Linked DNA regions of Homo sapiens: region 2 is linked to region 1. The links are contacts of gene promoters, found by promoter capture Hi-C in human tissues and cell types (Jung and others, 2019). All regions are on one chromosome and are shown on one strand. The core of a region is centred on a gene start or on the middle of the fragment in contact, and the rest is flanking DNA. Distances in the headings are between cores, read along the strand shown. Region 1 holds the start of GFRA4 (GDNF family receptor alpha 4). Region 2 overlaps SLC23A2 (solute carrier family 23 member 2).

What was found. Contacts are between HindIII fragments. The study calls those that stand out against the background at their distance.
Region 2: a contact is called between a fragment that was not itself captured here and the fragment with the promoter of GFRA4 in region 1, in 1 of the 25 tissues and cell types used here (dorsolateral prefrontal cortex).

The regions. Positions count from the first base shown.
Region 1 is chr20:3,659,725-3,667,573 of GRCh38, forward strand. GFRA4 (GDNF family receptor alpha 4) reads right to left here and starts at 3,675. Exons shown (of 6, transcript NM_022139.4): 1 at 3,630-3,675; 2 at 1,220-1,565; 3 at 1,031-1,140; 4 at 802-936; 5 at 434-525; 6 at 1-265. The coding sequence starts at 3,675. The coding sequence ends at 185. RefSeq lists silencers at 1,051-1,100, 1,191-1,300 and an enhancer at 7,186-7,715. The HindIII fragment of the contact is 25,120 bases long and covers 1-7,849 here.
Region 2 is chr20:4,867,719-4,875,567 of GRCh38, forward strand. SLC23A2 (solute carrier family 23 member 2) reads right to left here. Exons shown (of 17, transcript NM_005116.6): 10 at 6,858-6,978; 11 at 6,218-6,374; 12 at 2,188-2,335; 13 at 52-157. Among named protein-coding and RNA genes, the nearest start is that of RASSF2, 48 kb to the left of the region's middle. The HindIII fragment of the contact is 3,701 bases long and covers 2,502-6,202 here.

The sequences.
Region 1 (7,849 bases), core at 2,425-4,924:
TACATCCCTTGCCCCAGGGGACGGCACACAGGGTGTCCAAACCTACAAAGGGCAGCGGAGTGAAAGCACCAGGGCCGGCTTGGGGGGTAAGCCAGCCCCTTCTCAAGGGGCCAGTAGGCCACAGAGGCGGCCCAGGCAGGCAGGGTGGAGTAGCTGGCTGTGCTATCCGAGGTCGCTGTCCTAATCAGAGCAGGGCCGGGAGAGCCAGGACAGGAAGTATGGAGAGCAGGGAGCGTCTCTCCAGGGCCCTGCCTGTGGAGGACACCTTGGGGGTGGGAGCCAAGTGCAGACTTGAGGCAAAAGCCTGTCTCTGCCCTCTGCCTGCACCCCCACCCCAGGCCCTTCATGCCTCCACCCAGGCCCACCAGGGACGGAAGGGTGTGAAGGTGACAGTGGGGGAGGTGCCAGCTCACCCTCCCCTCCCTGCACCTACCTGCAGGAGGCTGTGCTCCGGGTCTCCCTGGGGGTTCAGCTGGTCCAGCAGGACTGGGGGCCACCCGCTGGCAAAGGCCTGAATGGCACCATCTATGGAGGGAGGGGTCCAGGGTGGACTTAGCTGGGAAACCCTAGCACAGGGCTCAGCACAGGGGACAAAGTGAGAGACCCCCTGCTGCAAAGACTGGCTCCTTGGACAGAAGGTGTGTGGTGAGGAATAACAAAATAATAAGCACAGCTGTGACAGAGTGACTCAACTGTACAGTCTTCCATTCTCCCCTCTAAAATGGCTCCCAGCCAGGCGGCTTGGGAGGGGGCAGTAAGCGCCGCCCCCACTCCCCCTCCACTCCCCCCCGGGCCCCTCACCCAAGCAGCGGTTCCTGGTAAAGAGCCCCCGGAAGGCTTCGCAGTCCTCACGCCGGTTCCCGCTGGCTCCGCAGTCGCACCAGGGCGCCACGCGCGCGCTCACGTTGTCCACGTAGTTAGGGGTGACGGCGGTGCCTGCGGGGACCCTGAGGGCGAAGTCATCGGCCCACCCGGGCGGAGATATCCCCTGGAGAACCCCCGCCCTCGCCCGGATCCCGGCCGCGCGTACCCACGAGGCCCGCGTAGGCGCGCAGGCAGCGGGCGCCCTGGTCCAGCAGGCAGCCGTCGGGGGCGCTGGGCGCTGGGGTGCACGAGACCTGAAAGGCCAGGAGGCGAGGCCTGCGCGGCGGGAGGGCGGTGAGCCGGAGAGAGGCCCCGTCCCCACCCTCGCCACGGCCCCGCCGCCGCCCGCGCGCACCTGCAGACCCGGCTGCGCTCGCAGAAGTTTAAGGGCTCAAGGCAGGAGGGCGGCGCGGGGCCGGGCCCCGAAAAGGCGCAGGAGGGCACGAAGGTCTGGCGCCGACGCTCGGCGCACGCGGGGCCCGCGCACGGGCAGAAGAGCAGTGCGTGGGTGAGCGCGGGCGGCCCGCGGGCGAAGAAGCGGCGCAGGGCCCGGCGGCAGCGGGCGCGGGGACAGCCCCCCTGCGCAGCCCGGCCCAGGCACTGCGCCACATACTCGGAGCGCAAACGCTGGCACCGCGCGTCCGCCGTGCAGGCTTCGGCCGCGTCCACACATCGGTTCCCTCCGACCGAGCTCGCCGACCCTGGGAAAGGCGCGGGGAGGCTGCAGGTCTCAGTGCGCCCCGCATGCACACTTCACCCAGCCCATCCACGCCCCTGGAAGGTGGGGGACACTGAAAACCCGAGAAAGCATAGAGTGTGGCCCAAAGGCGGGGCCGACTGGCACTGATCGGCTCTCCGTCGTGGGGATGGGCAGCGGCGGGCTCTGGAGGGCTCTGCAACACGTCAGGGATGGAGAGGGAGCATGGAGGCTGAGCCAGGCCTTCCCCAAAAGCTGAAGCCCCTCCTTCCCAAGCATCGCCACCATTTCTCCAGAACGGCCACACACGTCCAAAGACGGGTCCAGGGGCTCCTCCTACACTCAATGGCACTACCTGACGGGGGAACAATGAGGCTTTCTGGGGATCTGGCCAATGGAGACTTTAAAACCAGAGATGGCATAGAAGACAGTGGCTGCTCCTAGTCTCTTAATGACAGGCTGTGACGCCATACCTTTCCTCCTCTACCCCCTCCACCTCGCCGCTTATCCTCCACCATGGAGACCCTTTGGGTGGGTCTATTGATTTCTGTTTCTCCCTCCTTCCTGACCTCCTGCTCCTCCTCCTGCCCCCTGCATGGGTGTCTCCCCTCTCCAGCCCTTCCTGATGCTCCCTTGAGTCGAGGTCATCCTGCCCCATCTGCACTGGCTTCCTCCAGCCCCTCCACCCTTCATCAGCCAGGGGAGAGCGGATTCATGCAAGAGCTCTGGCCACTGAAGAACCCACTGAGTCCTGGCTGCCAGGGTGTGGATTCAGAGAAGTCCCTGACGACACACCGCCGGGCTTTGTCCTGAGCCACAGGACCCAAGGGTTCATCAGTGGTTTTAGTGACCAGGCCCCATGATAGGTGACACCCTGCTGGAGACAGAGAAGGTGCCTGGCACCCCAGTCACACACCAGGGGTTGGGTAGACAGAGGGTGAGCTCTGCCCACATGCCCACAGGCTGTGTCTAAATAGAGCCAGGATAACTGGAAGTTGGGACTTGGCAGCCCCTTCCCAGGATTTGAGTCACAAAAACCAGGCTAATCGAATCCCCCCCAGCCTCCACAAGTTCTCCAGTCTGGAGCATCTCATTCAGACTAGAAGCCTTTCTGGTGCCCAGCCTGAGTGGACGTGCACAGCCTGGCCCCTCATCCATCTCCCTGTGTGTTTGTGCACAGGGGCTACGGGGTGGTATCCCCCCCCCAGGGCTGGGAGCAGGGTGCCTCTCTGGCAATGGCTGTGTCTTTCAGGCTGTGGATTGGACCGCGTGGTGAGAGTGATTCCTGCTGTGACTTCAGCACCTGCCTCTGCAGGAAGGATGAACATAGCTCGAGGGCTTAGAATGGTCCCTGAGTGGAGGGGATAGATGGCAGCGGGGTGAGTCCTCCCTTCCTCCCCTCCCCAAAGGGCACACTTTGCTTTCCTCTCACAGCCTTGCCAGGCACATCCTCAGGTCTCAGCTGCACACACCAGCACCTGATGTTGCCTAAGGGTTTGAACCCACCTCTGCCTGTTGCTTACCTGTCACCCTTGCCCAGAACACCCTTACCCAGTCTCCACCCTCACAGCAGCTCATCTCAGCTGCAAGATCTCCTCCACCTTAAACCTTTACCAGATTCCACTTTCCACACTACACTCGGTAAAGTGACCCCTCCCTCCGCGACATCCATGCAGGGACGGAGCAGTCCAAGAAGGTGGAACAACAGATGAACAACACCGAAGATTCACCAAGGAATCTGTGTGATGGGTAGGAGGGCTGGGGCTGAGGGGAGGGTGAGAGAGTTGGGAGATGGCAGACAATAGGCAAAAGTTCCTGGGGCACGGGTGCCAAGGCTGGACTCGGGAGGGGGATGGCGGTGGTGGCTTGACGGGGCTGGGAGGTGAGGTGCTCAGCACATAGTGGGGTCAATTGCCAGGGGTCCCCAAGCCGTGCGCACAGGCCTCTCACTGGCAACCCTTCCTGTGGTTCAGCTTTTCCTGGAATATCTTGCCCTCCCACCTTGTCACTGAGGAGCAGGGACAGAGAGGCCAGGGTTCGGGGTCCAGGGGAAGAGAGGGGCGCTCACCCAGTAACAGCAGCAGCAGCAGCGCAGGCCCCAGGCAGCGGACCATGCTGGACCTTCAACAGAGAAGGATGGCTGGCAGAGCCCTAGTCTGATAGGCGCCCCCTTCCTAGTGCCTCTGGAGCAGGAGCACAGTGAAAACCCAGCTGTCTGCGCTGATACCCCTGGGAGGAGCCTTTGCTGCAGCAACTCCCCGCCCTCATTAAGTCTCCACCCCAGGCTGCACCGTCAGGTAAACCTGGGAGCCACGGGATTCGGCGCCTGAATGTGCCTAGACGGACCCCAACACACTAGCCCTGCCACGCACACCCAGCAACACACAGACAACCACCCAGGGAGACCTGGTCTCTCCCATGCTAAACTAGGAACGCTATGAAACAGCATTTTTCTTTTCCTTTTTTATATAATTCTATTTTAAACTTAAAAAAATTTTTTTGAATAGAGTTGGGGTCTCGCTCTATTGCGCAGGCTGGTCTTGAACTCCTGGGCTCAAACCATCCTCCCACCTCGGCCTCTCAAAGTGCTAGGATGACAGGTGTGAGCCACCATGCCTGGCCTATTTTAAACTTCTTATTGTTGACTAATTTTAGACTTGCAGAAAAGTTGGAAAATGTAAGCATTTTCCTTACACCCTTCACCCAGCTTCCCCTGATGGTCCATCTTACTTAATCATAGTCCAATCATTACAGCTAGGAAACTAACCTTGGTACAATCCTGTTAACGAAACTGTAGACTGTTTTGCATTTCTCATTTTTCCACTAATGTCCTTTTTCTGTTCCAAGATCCATTCTAGGATCCCACATCACAGTTGTCTCCTTATTCTCCTCAATCTGGGAGTTCCTTCATCTTTCCTTATCTTTACCCTTGACACTTTTGAAGAATCCTGGCCAGTTATTTTGCAGAATGTTTCTCTTGAGTTGTCTGATGTTTTATTCTGATCAGAATGAGACACAGCATTGTTTTGACTAACCAAAAAGTTATTCTATAAGTAAATATTGAGGTTAAAAATCTCATCCAACCTGGGCAACAGAGTAAGGCCCTGTCTCAAATAAAGTCTCAACACTAAGATTTAAAAAGTGACCAGAAAAGCCCCCACTATGATTTGTCTTGACTTTTTTTTAAAAAACAAACAAACAAACAAACAAACAAACAAAAACGATGTCTTGCTCTCTCTCTCCCTCAGGCTGGAGTGCAGTGGCACGATCTTGGCTCACTGCAACCTCCGCCTCCCAGGTTCAAGCGATTCTTCTGCCTCAGCCTCCCAGGTAGCTGGGATTACAGACGCCCGCCACCATGCCCGGCTAATTTTTGTATTTTTAGTAGAGACAAGGTTTCACCATGTTGGCCAGGCTGGTCTCGAACTTCTAACCTCAAGTGACCCGCCCACCTCTGCCTCCCAAAGTGCTGGAATTACAGACGTGAGCAACTGCGCTTGGCCTCATTAGCATCTTAAATCTCCACACAGGGGTGTGTTCCTTACTATTATAAGGAGCAAAGGATCAGTTTGAGGACAGGTAAAATAAAAATGCGCTTGCTGCCTAGAGGGAGAAGTCCCTGCTGAAGATAGCTTTGCTTGAATGAGCTCAATTGCAATGCCAGTGCTGAGGCTTGTTGACTGTACGGTCACCACAGTTGCTGCTGCGCGCCTAGAACATGGTCACTTTCTTGACTACCTATCCTGTCTCAGTACATCTGTCTGTGGTTTGTGGTGGTCCATTTCCTAATTTTTTTAATGAATCAGAAGACTGTGATGTGCTTTCCGCTGTGCTAACCATGGCCGCTGAAGCAAAATGTAAACCAAGATGCCCCTGCAGTGGTTGTGCTTCACTCTACGACATCTGTTACCGGAAAGGGGTCCAGATTCAGACCCCAGGAGAGGGTTCTTGGATCTCGTGCAAGAAAGAATTTGAGACGAGTCCATAAAGTGAAAGCACATTTATTAGGAAAGTAAAAGAATAAAAGAATGGCTACTCCATAGAGAGCGCAGCCCTGAGGGCTGCTGGTTGCCCATTTTTATGGTTGTTTCTGGATGATCTGCTAAACAGGGGTGGATTGTTCATGTCTCCCCTTTTTAGACCATATATGGTAACTTCCTGATACTGCCATGGCATCTGTAACCTGTCATGGCGCTGGTGGGAGTGTAGCAGTGGGGACGACCAGAGGTCACTCTCATCACCATCTTGGTTTGGGTGGGTTTTAGCCAGCTTCTATATTGCAAGCTGATTTTTTTGTTTGTTTTGTTTTTTGAGACGGAGTCTCGCTCCAGGCTGGAGTGCAGTGACACGATCTCAGCTCACTGCAACCTCCACCTCCTGGGTTCAAGCGATTCTCCTGCCTCAGCCTCCCAAGTAGCTGGGATTACAGGCACACACCACCATGCCTGGCTAGTTTTTGTATTTTTAGTAGAGATGAGGTTTCACCTTGTTGGCCAGGCTGGTCTCGAACTTCTGACCTCAGGTGATCCGCCCACCTCAGCCTCCCAAAGTGCTGGGATTACAGGCGTGAGCTACCGCGCCTGGCCTACTGCAAACTATTTTATCAGCAAGGTCTTTATGACCTGTATCTCCTATCTCATCCTGTGACGCAGAATGCTGTAACTGTCTGGAAACGCAGCCCAGTAGGTCTCAGCCTTATTTTGCTCAGCCCCTATTCAGGATGGAGTTGCTCTGGTTCACAGGCCTCTGACACATCCTCTTGTGTTTTGGCGTGTGGGAGGAAAGAGGGGTGAGGGAAGGAAACTCAAAACCAAGCTCTGACCACACAGGGCAGGTACACTCTCCCACCTGTCTGTGGGTGCCACAAGTCAAGGGAGGGGCAGAGAGAGAAGAAGGTGTGACAGATGGCCGCAGGCCACAGAATGTCAGAGGAAGCCCAGTTCCTCCCGGGGCAGCCCAAGTAGCTGGTAGTTGGGTGGCCAAACAGAGGGCGTCACAGCTGAGCTGGGCTCGCTCGCTACCCCCAGCTCAGCGTCCACTCTGCCCCTCAGTACCTCCTGCTCAGCCTCAGGGTCCATGCCTACCCTCCTGCTTCCCAGTCACTTCTGCGTGCCTCCTGCTTTTCTGCTGTTGGCCCCATGCCAGCTCCTTTCTGCTGAGCTTCTCTTCTCCAGTTCTGCAGCACAGCCAGGTGATCCTGGGCTCCAGACAGGCCTCTCCCCCAGTCTGGGGCCTCCCCTCTTAGAGCCCTCTTTCCTTCCCACGTGGCCTCCCCAGGGTTCGCCACTGAATGGAGAAGGGGTGGAGGGGGTGCTGGGCAGTCTTGGGGAATAGCCAAGAGGGCAGAGTTGGCCTCCCCAGGGTCCCTTGTAGCTGGAGTCCCGCGGGGTCTAGACACCCCCTCCTGAAGGGTAAGAGCGGGGGAGGTATATTAACGTGTATTTTTAGAGTCTCTCTTTTTTTTTTTTTTTTTTTTTGAGACGGAGTCTTGCTCTTGTTGCCCAGGCTGGAGTGCAGTGGCACGATCTCAGCTCACTGCAACCTCCACCTCCCATGTTCAAACAATTCTCCTGCCGCAGCCTCCCGAGTAGCTGGGATTATAGGCACGTGCCACCACACCGGGCTAATTTTTGTATTTTTAGTAGAGATGGGGTTTCACCACATTGGCCAGGCTGGTCTCGAACTTCTGACCTCAAATGATCCTCCCGCCTTGGCCTCCCAAAGTGCTGGGATTACAGGCGTGAGCCACCATGCCTGGCCTTAGATTCTCTATTTTATGATGGTTTAACATCTCGGGGTGGGGGCTTGTTGGCTGGAGAGAAACTGCTTGATTCCTGGAGATCAGAAACAACTCATGCCTTTCATATGCAAACCGACCAGTCTTGAGTCCATACACCAACCACCCCCTTCAAGGAACTCTCACATACGAAACCAGTATTTCCCCTGCCCTAAACCAGCTCAGGGCCAGGCACCTACCCAGACAATTAGAGCCCAACCCCACGCCCCAAACCCCACCAGAATGATTCAAAATGCCAATCCTACCCTCTTCCCCTGGCCTGCCTTGCCTCCCCAGTGGAAACGGCACTGTGGGCTGTGGCCTGTGCCTTCCACTCGCTCCTGATTCTGTCCCTGGACCAAACCTAGTGCCTCCCCACTGTGGCCCTGCATGGTGGGAAACTGTGAGTAATAACTTATTTCAACAGCATTGGCCTCTGTGTCATCAGTCACCTTCATAAATTAAAATTTTGCAACTACAACTGAGGCAGGAGGGGGCTTTAGAGAGCACTC
Region 2 (7,849 bases), core at 3,102-5,601, 1.2 Mb after region 1:
AATGGACCAATGCTTAGAAACCCAATCATTTAATTAGAAAAATCTGTGTACCTTTGTAATTCCCAAAACTCCAATGTTGGGACTGGATGAAGTAGAGCCATTCCCAGTACCAAATATGCCATCAAGAACACAGGAGAGGCCTTCCACGAAAATTCCCCTAAGATGTAAAGGAATGGAGGAAAGAAAATCATTCAATGGGATAATGCATTCACTCTGAAATAGCCTCTACACATCTACAATCCAAAAATGTGGTCCAGAGCCTGCAGCTTCCACATCTCCTGGGAGCTGGGAGGGCGATTAAAAATACAATCTCAGACCCCACCCCAGACCTGCTGAAGCAGAAAAGAATCTGCATTTTTTTTTTTTTTTTTTTTTTTTTTAGAGAGTGTCTCACTCCGTCACCTAGGCTGGAATGCAGTGACGCGATCTTGGCTCACTGCAACCTCCACCTCCTGGGTTCAAGAGATTCTCCTGCCTCCCGAGTAGCTGGGATTACAGGTTTGCACCACCATGCCTGGCTAATTTTTGTATTTTTAGTAGAGACGGGGTTTCACCATGTGGCCAGGCTGGTGTGGAATTCCTGACCTCAGGGTGATCCGCCTGCCTCAGCCTCCCAAAATGTTGGGATTACAGGCGTGAGCCACTGTGCCCGGCCAGAATCTGCATTTTAACAGAACCCCCAAAGCTCATTCCATTTTGAGAAGCACATCTCTAAATCACACGTTAGATTTGAGTGTTTTTAAATCACCGCAAATGAAAGCAAAGGATTTTAGCCAGAAAATAAAGCCATTTGTTGGGGTATAAGACAAACATGGGCCGTCTATGGAAATAAAACATTGATGTGATCCTTTACTCTTAAAATCCAGTTTCATCAGGAAGGAAATGTTTTATAATTTCATAAGTACTGACACTTTTAAACATACTGATATACAGGTATTTAATCATGTGCAGCAGCTCCATTAGAGAAAGATGGGGACATCAGGTACCAGAGCCAAGGCCCAGTCCATTAATCTCATCACACACAGTCCCTTCTGGGGTTACAGAGCTGGCTGGAGAACAGGAGGGGATCTGGGCTGTTTTCTTTTCTCTGCAGACTCCTCAGGGGCAATCATCTGACAACTTCTAAAAGCTAATCATAAACCCCATAGTTCATAAGCCCTAGATCCCACAGATTTCATTCATTTCTGCTATTCCTGTCCCTATTTATATAAACTGTAACTGTGCATAGATTACACAGTGCTTACCCTTGGGGACAATTGGAACGTATCTAATTGACAGACCTGGGGCATACTGCCTGCTGCTAAGGTTTCCACTACAGGGGAGAGCAAACGGTATCCTTGTGCTTTCTGTCTGTCCGATTGTGGCAGCCAAGATTGGGTGGGGAAACAGGGAAAAAAACAGGTAATTTTTGCAATGTAGAAATAGCACTGTATAGCCAAGTATGGTGGTGCACACCTGCAGTCTCAGCTACTCAAGGTGCTGAGGTGGGAGGATTGCTTGAGCCCAGGAGTTCAAGAGTGTGGTGCATTACGATTGTGCCTCTGAATAGCCACTGCACTGTAGCCTGGGCAACACGGTGAGACCCTGGGTCTTTTTAAATTAAAAACAAACAAACAAAAAAAAAACAAAAAAAACCTGTAAGCAGTGAAGAGCTTGTTTTGCTGGGAAGAAAAATTTCAGTTTGTGTAAAAAAAAAAAAAAAAAGAACAGTTGGAAAGGCAAGATAACAGAAAATCAAAGTAGTGCTCTCTATCTCTCTCTCTCTCTCTATATATATATATAGACAGAGCTACTTTGATTTTATCTATCTAATCTCCAAATGACACACACACACACACACACCCCAAAAAAAGCAAAGAACAAGTGCAGTGCTTGGCATGTGGTTTTTGAATTTAAGGCTTACAGTGGTTTCGCAGAGAGTGTGTTATTTGATGTCACTGCAATTAAGGAAGGGTAGGAATTCCGTTCCACGTCATGGACGAGGAAAATGAAAGTAAACAAAGGCAGTGGTGTATCAGACAGTCGAAAGTAAACAAAGGTGGTGATGCATCAAACAGTCGCTAGAGTCCTGCTGCTTGGCTGGGCTCCTGCTGAAACTCTTGGTTTTGTCTTCAAGGTAATGTAAACCTAAGAACAAAGTAACAAGGTGCTGGGACCAATCAGGAACTTGTCTTCTCAGGAACGTACCTGTTTATTGCGTGGATGGGGGGGGGTGGGGCACAGGACAGCCGTGCACAGGCGTAGTAGTCACCAATAGACTCGATGATGCTGGCGACCACGGCACTGAGCATGCCGATGACACCGGCCGCAGACACGGTGGGCAGTCCCCACTGAACTGTGGGAGGAAAACAACCATGAATGCTCCTAGAGAGGCAGGCGAAAGTGACCAGGACCAGTTACCCAAAGTCATTCTGAACGCTGCAAGACTCTACAAGATCCACTTGGATTCTGAAGCTCATGGAAACTGTTCATTTTAAAATCTTAAGCACCAGATGCCTGGGACAGTTGCTAAGTCAGATGAAGGCGGCCATAATGAGGACTGATGTGCACTGTGTCTTTAATTAAAAGAAAACATCGTAGCCGGATGCGGTGGCTCACGCCTGTAATCCCAGCACTTTGGGAGGCCGAGGCAGGCAGATCACGAGGTCAGGAGTTCGAGACCAGCCTGGCCAACAAGGTGAAACCCCATCTCTACTAAAAATACAAAAATTAGCCAGGCGTGGGGGCATGTGCCTGTAATTCCAACTACTCGGGAGGCTGAGGCAGGAGAATCACTTGAACCTAGGAGGCGGAGGTTGCAGTGAGCCAAGACTGCGCCACTGCACTCCAGCCTGGGTGATAGAGCGAGACTCCATCTCAAAAAAAAAAAAGAAGAAAAAGAAGAAGACATTGTTGGGCTGGAAGAGGCTGTAACTTCTCTTTCCTGCTTCCAAGCCACACTCAGTATCCACTAAATAACAACTGAAAGTGCCCTGCCACGTTGGGAAATTTGTATGAGGGATTTATAGCCCTGCTGTACAGAGCAGGGTACAAAGCAGCAGTGGCCTTCCCCAGGGGAGGACATCAAGTGAAAAGGCAGTGAGAAATCACCAGCTAAACTTAAATCCCAACAGTAAAGCATCCATAAGGTATGGACAGTCCTTCTCTACTATAATACCAGAACCTTATTTTTATATCATAAACCATGTTATGGGAAATTAAATAGTTTCATTTCAGAAAGCAAAGTGAGGCCCCACTGAAACTTCATTTTAAGTTCCGCATTTACTTAATCCCTCATTAGATACTTTTTTCTTCACAAGTATATTTATTTGGACTTGAAAGCCATAGGTCTTACTTAACAAAAATAGCATGGGTCTCTTTCGTGTGAGAATGAATAGACTCCTTTGATAAAGGAGTAGCCCTTCTTCCGTTGAAGCATTAGTTATAATACACTCACTGAGCAGAAAGCACAGTGGGAAAAGAACGATGGCTAAAACATGGTCTCTCATGCAGGAGCCAACAACGTAGCTGGGGACACAGGACACTCCAAAAGATCCAGGGAGAGGGAAATTGCTCAACTTCAAATGGAGGCAAGCTGAGCTGGGTCACAAGAAGCACCAGTGAGGTGGTCAGGAAAAGGCGAAGTCGGGCCCTGGCCAGGGAAGGATCTGAGGAGGAGGTGGGAACGGAGGTGCCCCTCCAGGGATCGGGAGGGTCTGGAGGGTGGGGTTTGAGGGTGTTCTGGTGAACGCAGAGCTCTCATGCAGGGCACAGGGCAGGAGGCAAGTTCTGGAAGTGTTCCAAAAGCCATCTAAGCCACCTAGAGGGGTTTGGCCTGTGTTGTAGGTAGCCTAGAGCAACCACTGGATTGGGAAGAGAAAGGATACAAAGTCAGACGTGCAGAATAAGCCTGGAGTGCGGTTAAGGGCAGAATTGCTCCTGCCTCAGGCTTGTTCATTCTGTGGGAGCAGCCAGGGGATGCAGAGGCGGCCCTTGGTCAGGGGTGCAAGGTACGCAGGTTGATGGATGGGGCTCGACACACCCTATGCCACCAGCAAGAGGCCTGCTCAACGTATCAGCTCCAGGTTAATTTGGAATGGATTTTCCTCATTCAGAGGCCTTCCTCACCAAGGAACATTTTGCTTTTTCTCAATTATCTTTTATACTGTTATCTTGTTATTGTTGTAGCATTCTGGTTTCAAGAATTCTGGTTGTAGCATTCAAGTTTAGTGTCTTGATTTTGAAGGGGGATTCTTATTTTGATCCTTTTTCCTTCAGATATATATCTATATATCTATATCTATATTTTTTTTTCTTAAAGACCTTGTTGGCTTCCAGCCTTCTCTCTTGAATCTGTTATTTCATATCTCCTTTTACCAAGAAACTTTCATTTAGTTTGTTACTTGACAGCAGGGTTTTTCAACCTCAGCACTGTTGACATTTTGCACCAGAAATCTGTATTATATTAACAATCAGTCCAGACCATGCCTAGTGTACTAAAGACTGAAAAGCACTGCTCAGGTATTCAAAAGCCCCTCTCTGGCTTGAGACAAAGCACTGGAGAGTACTACATATGTATACAGTAGTACGACTATATCCCTGGAGGTGGCTTTCTAGCTATGGAGCTCTGGTACCCCACCAGCCCTCGGCAGGCCAGGAGCCCTACGTGCTCGCTCACGGCCAGCACAACCTCAGGCGCTCTGTCTACTAAGTTTCGCCTTCTCGTGTGTGGCCCCATGGGTCCTAGTGAACTCCCTCTGGCCCCAGCACCTGTACAGCTGCCTCTCCTGGACAGCCCAGCTTGTGCCCCTACTGGCGCCCACCTTGGGAGTTGCCTGCACAAGCAGAAGACCACCTTGTATACGCTGTGGGGGCTTCTACCTACCTGCCACCCCCGCCTCGCCCTCACCCTGACTGCCTCACCAACTAATTGTAATTTCATTTTATCTCAGACTACAGGTATGTTTATGAACCATGCACATTCTTTCTTGGAAAAAGAATAGGTCTGTATAAATGCACACTTAGACCATACAATCTGATGAGAAAGTTATTTTAGAAAGATGAAACTTTTTTTTTTGAGACAGTCTTGCTCTGTCTCCCAGGCTGAAGTGCAGTGGCGCAATCTCGACTCACTGCAACCTCCGCCTCCCAGATCCAAGCGATTCTCCTGCCTCAGCCTCCCGAGTAGCTGGAATTACAGACACCCGTCATCAGGCCTGGCTCATTTTTGTATTTTTGTAGAGATGGGGTTTCACCATGTTGGCCAGGCTGGTCTTGAACTCCTGACCTCGGGTGATCCTCCTGCCTCGGCCTCCCCAAAGTGCTGGGGTTACAGGCATGTCCCGCCGCGCCCGGCCTGAAAGACGAAACTTTTTAAAGCTTTCCTAAGTGTATTGAGAACAAAAAGAACAGCCAACACTCATCATTCAACATGCTCAGAGCAGTCATCTTTAACCCAACCTTAAAATTCTTGGCTTCTCTCTTTTTCTCCTTGTCATTATAAAAAATGAAAATAAGATGGTTACACAGGGAAAGAAGTGGGCTGAACCTGACTAAGCTCAGGCTCCAATTCTAATAAAAACCCAGACGCCGGGACTAGAGTCTTCACAATGGAACCAAGTGTGTAACAACCACTGGGATCACCTACACGGGGCCAGCTGCGAGTCCAGGTGACACCCCAGCTAGGGAATGTATTCACACCCCCAACAGTTACACAACACTCAAATTAAGATGCAGCTTTTGGCCATTAGTGACTATCAACTTACCTCTACAGCTGTGGCCAAATTTAAAAGATTATGGCTGCCCATTAAGAGATTATATAAATTCCATCATGCTTGAGCAGGTTGCTTGCTAATCCCCAGGCTGTTCCCACTCACATCTTTCCACTTTGGCAGCTCTGGGACCAAGCAGCTCTATACTTGCCTATCTAAGCAGCTGCCCTCAAATCCTGGCCACCAGAGCTTAAACCTGGCAAGAGACCCCTTGTCCAGGATTTCATCCTAGCAGATCCAAAAGAGACAGCTCGCTAATGTGAGAAGGGAGCCGGTCAGTCTCTGTGTGTTGGTTTCTGCCCTCTGGGGACAGGGCCTCCCTTACTTGCTGTCTAATCCTCTCCTGACCAGAATGGCAAGGCCTTCAGGAGACAGTCTGGGACAAAGACGGCTGTTCTGCCAAATTCCCACCCCTCTCAGTTGGGCCCTCGTGGGCTCTTGACCCCTCTAGCCATCAGAATACTTACATGGGTATGGAACCTTAAACCACGGGGCTACCAGAAGCACGCCTTGCCTGGCATCTGTGCGAGCATAGAAGCCATACTTTGTGCTGTCGGGAGGGAAGACATCTGTCACCGTGAAGATGAAGCAGAGCAGCCAGGATACCAGGATGGCCAGGATGATCTGGAGTGGTCAAGGGGAAGCTCTGTCAGGCCAGCAGGGCTCACAGGTGTTGGCAAAAAACACGTCTTCCCGCGGTCGGAATATCACACCCCAGAGCCCACCACAGTCAGTACTTTGCAGACCTTCCTTGAATGGACTCTCACTGAGAGAGCAGTTTCATTCAGGTGAACTTATCTTACCCATTCCAAAGTCTGGCTGGTAAAACAAGAATGGACATCGTGCCTGCAGAGGCCACGTGGAGTCAAATCTTACTCAGTCCCAAGGACAGTGTCCCCTTCCTTCGGCACTGCTAAAAGGATGTGCTCCCATTTCAGAATCAGAATGTTTAAGTCTATGATGATCTGAGTGGTCATTAGTAGCCTGGTCTCACTGCACAGATATGATCCCCCAAGGAGGGCCTGCTTAAAACCCTCCCTTCACTTAATCATCTTACATATTAACCAAGGGCAAAAATGTCAGCAGGGGAAGAAGTCAGCTACTCACAGGGAACATTTTGAACAGCTGTAACTTGTACGCAGTCCATCCTTTCTTGGATTTATAAATCGGGAGAGGAAATTTAACATTTCTGGCGTATTGAGAAAACAGTAATACTAGGAATATTGTCCTGAGGAGAGAAAGAAAACAAACTAGGTCAAAAGCTGTTATGTCTCTGTTATAAAATAACACTCGAAGCTTCTATGGCAAAATTGACATAGTGTTCAATTCATTTACCTAGAAAGCTGCTAGTCCTCTGAACTACCATTTGAGAAATAGTATATCTATTGGAATGTACATCTTTTGGAAATACTACTGTGGGGGAAGATGTTACAACTAATTTGCCTAGCATTTCTTGATACTGAAATGAAATTCTGATGTAAATGCCTTAGGACAGCTTTTCCTAAATAGAATAAGAAAACCCAAAGAATGTACACATTGATGGGAAACGCTTACTCTATGTAAAGGGAAAGGATGCCAGATACAACATAAACTGTAAGATTATAACTATGAATTAACTACAAAGCAAACCAAGAAACTACTGCACGTACACACAAACAGGTAAGAAGGACATGATCCAAAATTCTCCCAGGGATTCGCTTTGAGTAGTTACATGATTTGCAACTGGTTTTCCCACTTTTCTGTATTTTCCAATCTACTTACAGCACGCATAAATTACTTTTAAAAGAGCAAAAAGTAAGCTTCACTGCTCAAGAAAAGTAGATACAGTAGAATTCAGTATTAATAACATTCCTGGGAGGCTTCTGTGTGCCAGACATTACACTAATGTCTTCCTGTGCAGCATCTCAACCTTACGGGGTGGCTTCTAAGATGGTCTCCTTTTCACAGAGACAAAGCCAGAGGTCCAAGATCACACGGCTAGGGTTGTAGCACTGGGGACCAGGAATCTAGCTCTATGGCTTGAACTGAACTCTTTCCTTTTGCCACCCTGGTCACAGGGCAAGGAGGCTGGGCTGCGTAAGTCCCTCTCCTTGAGCCTC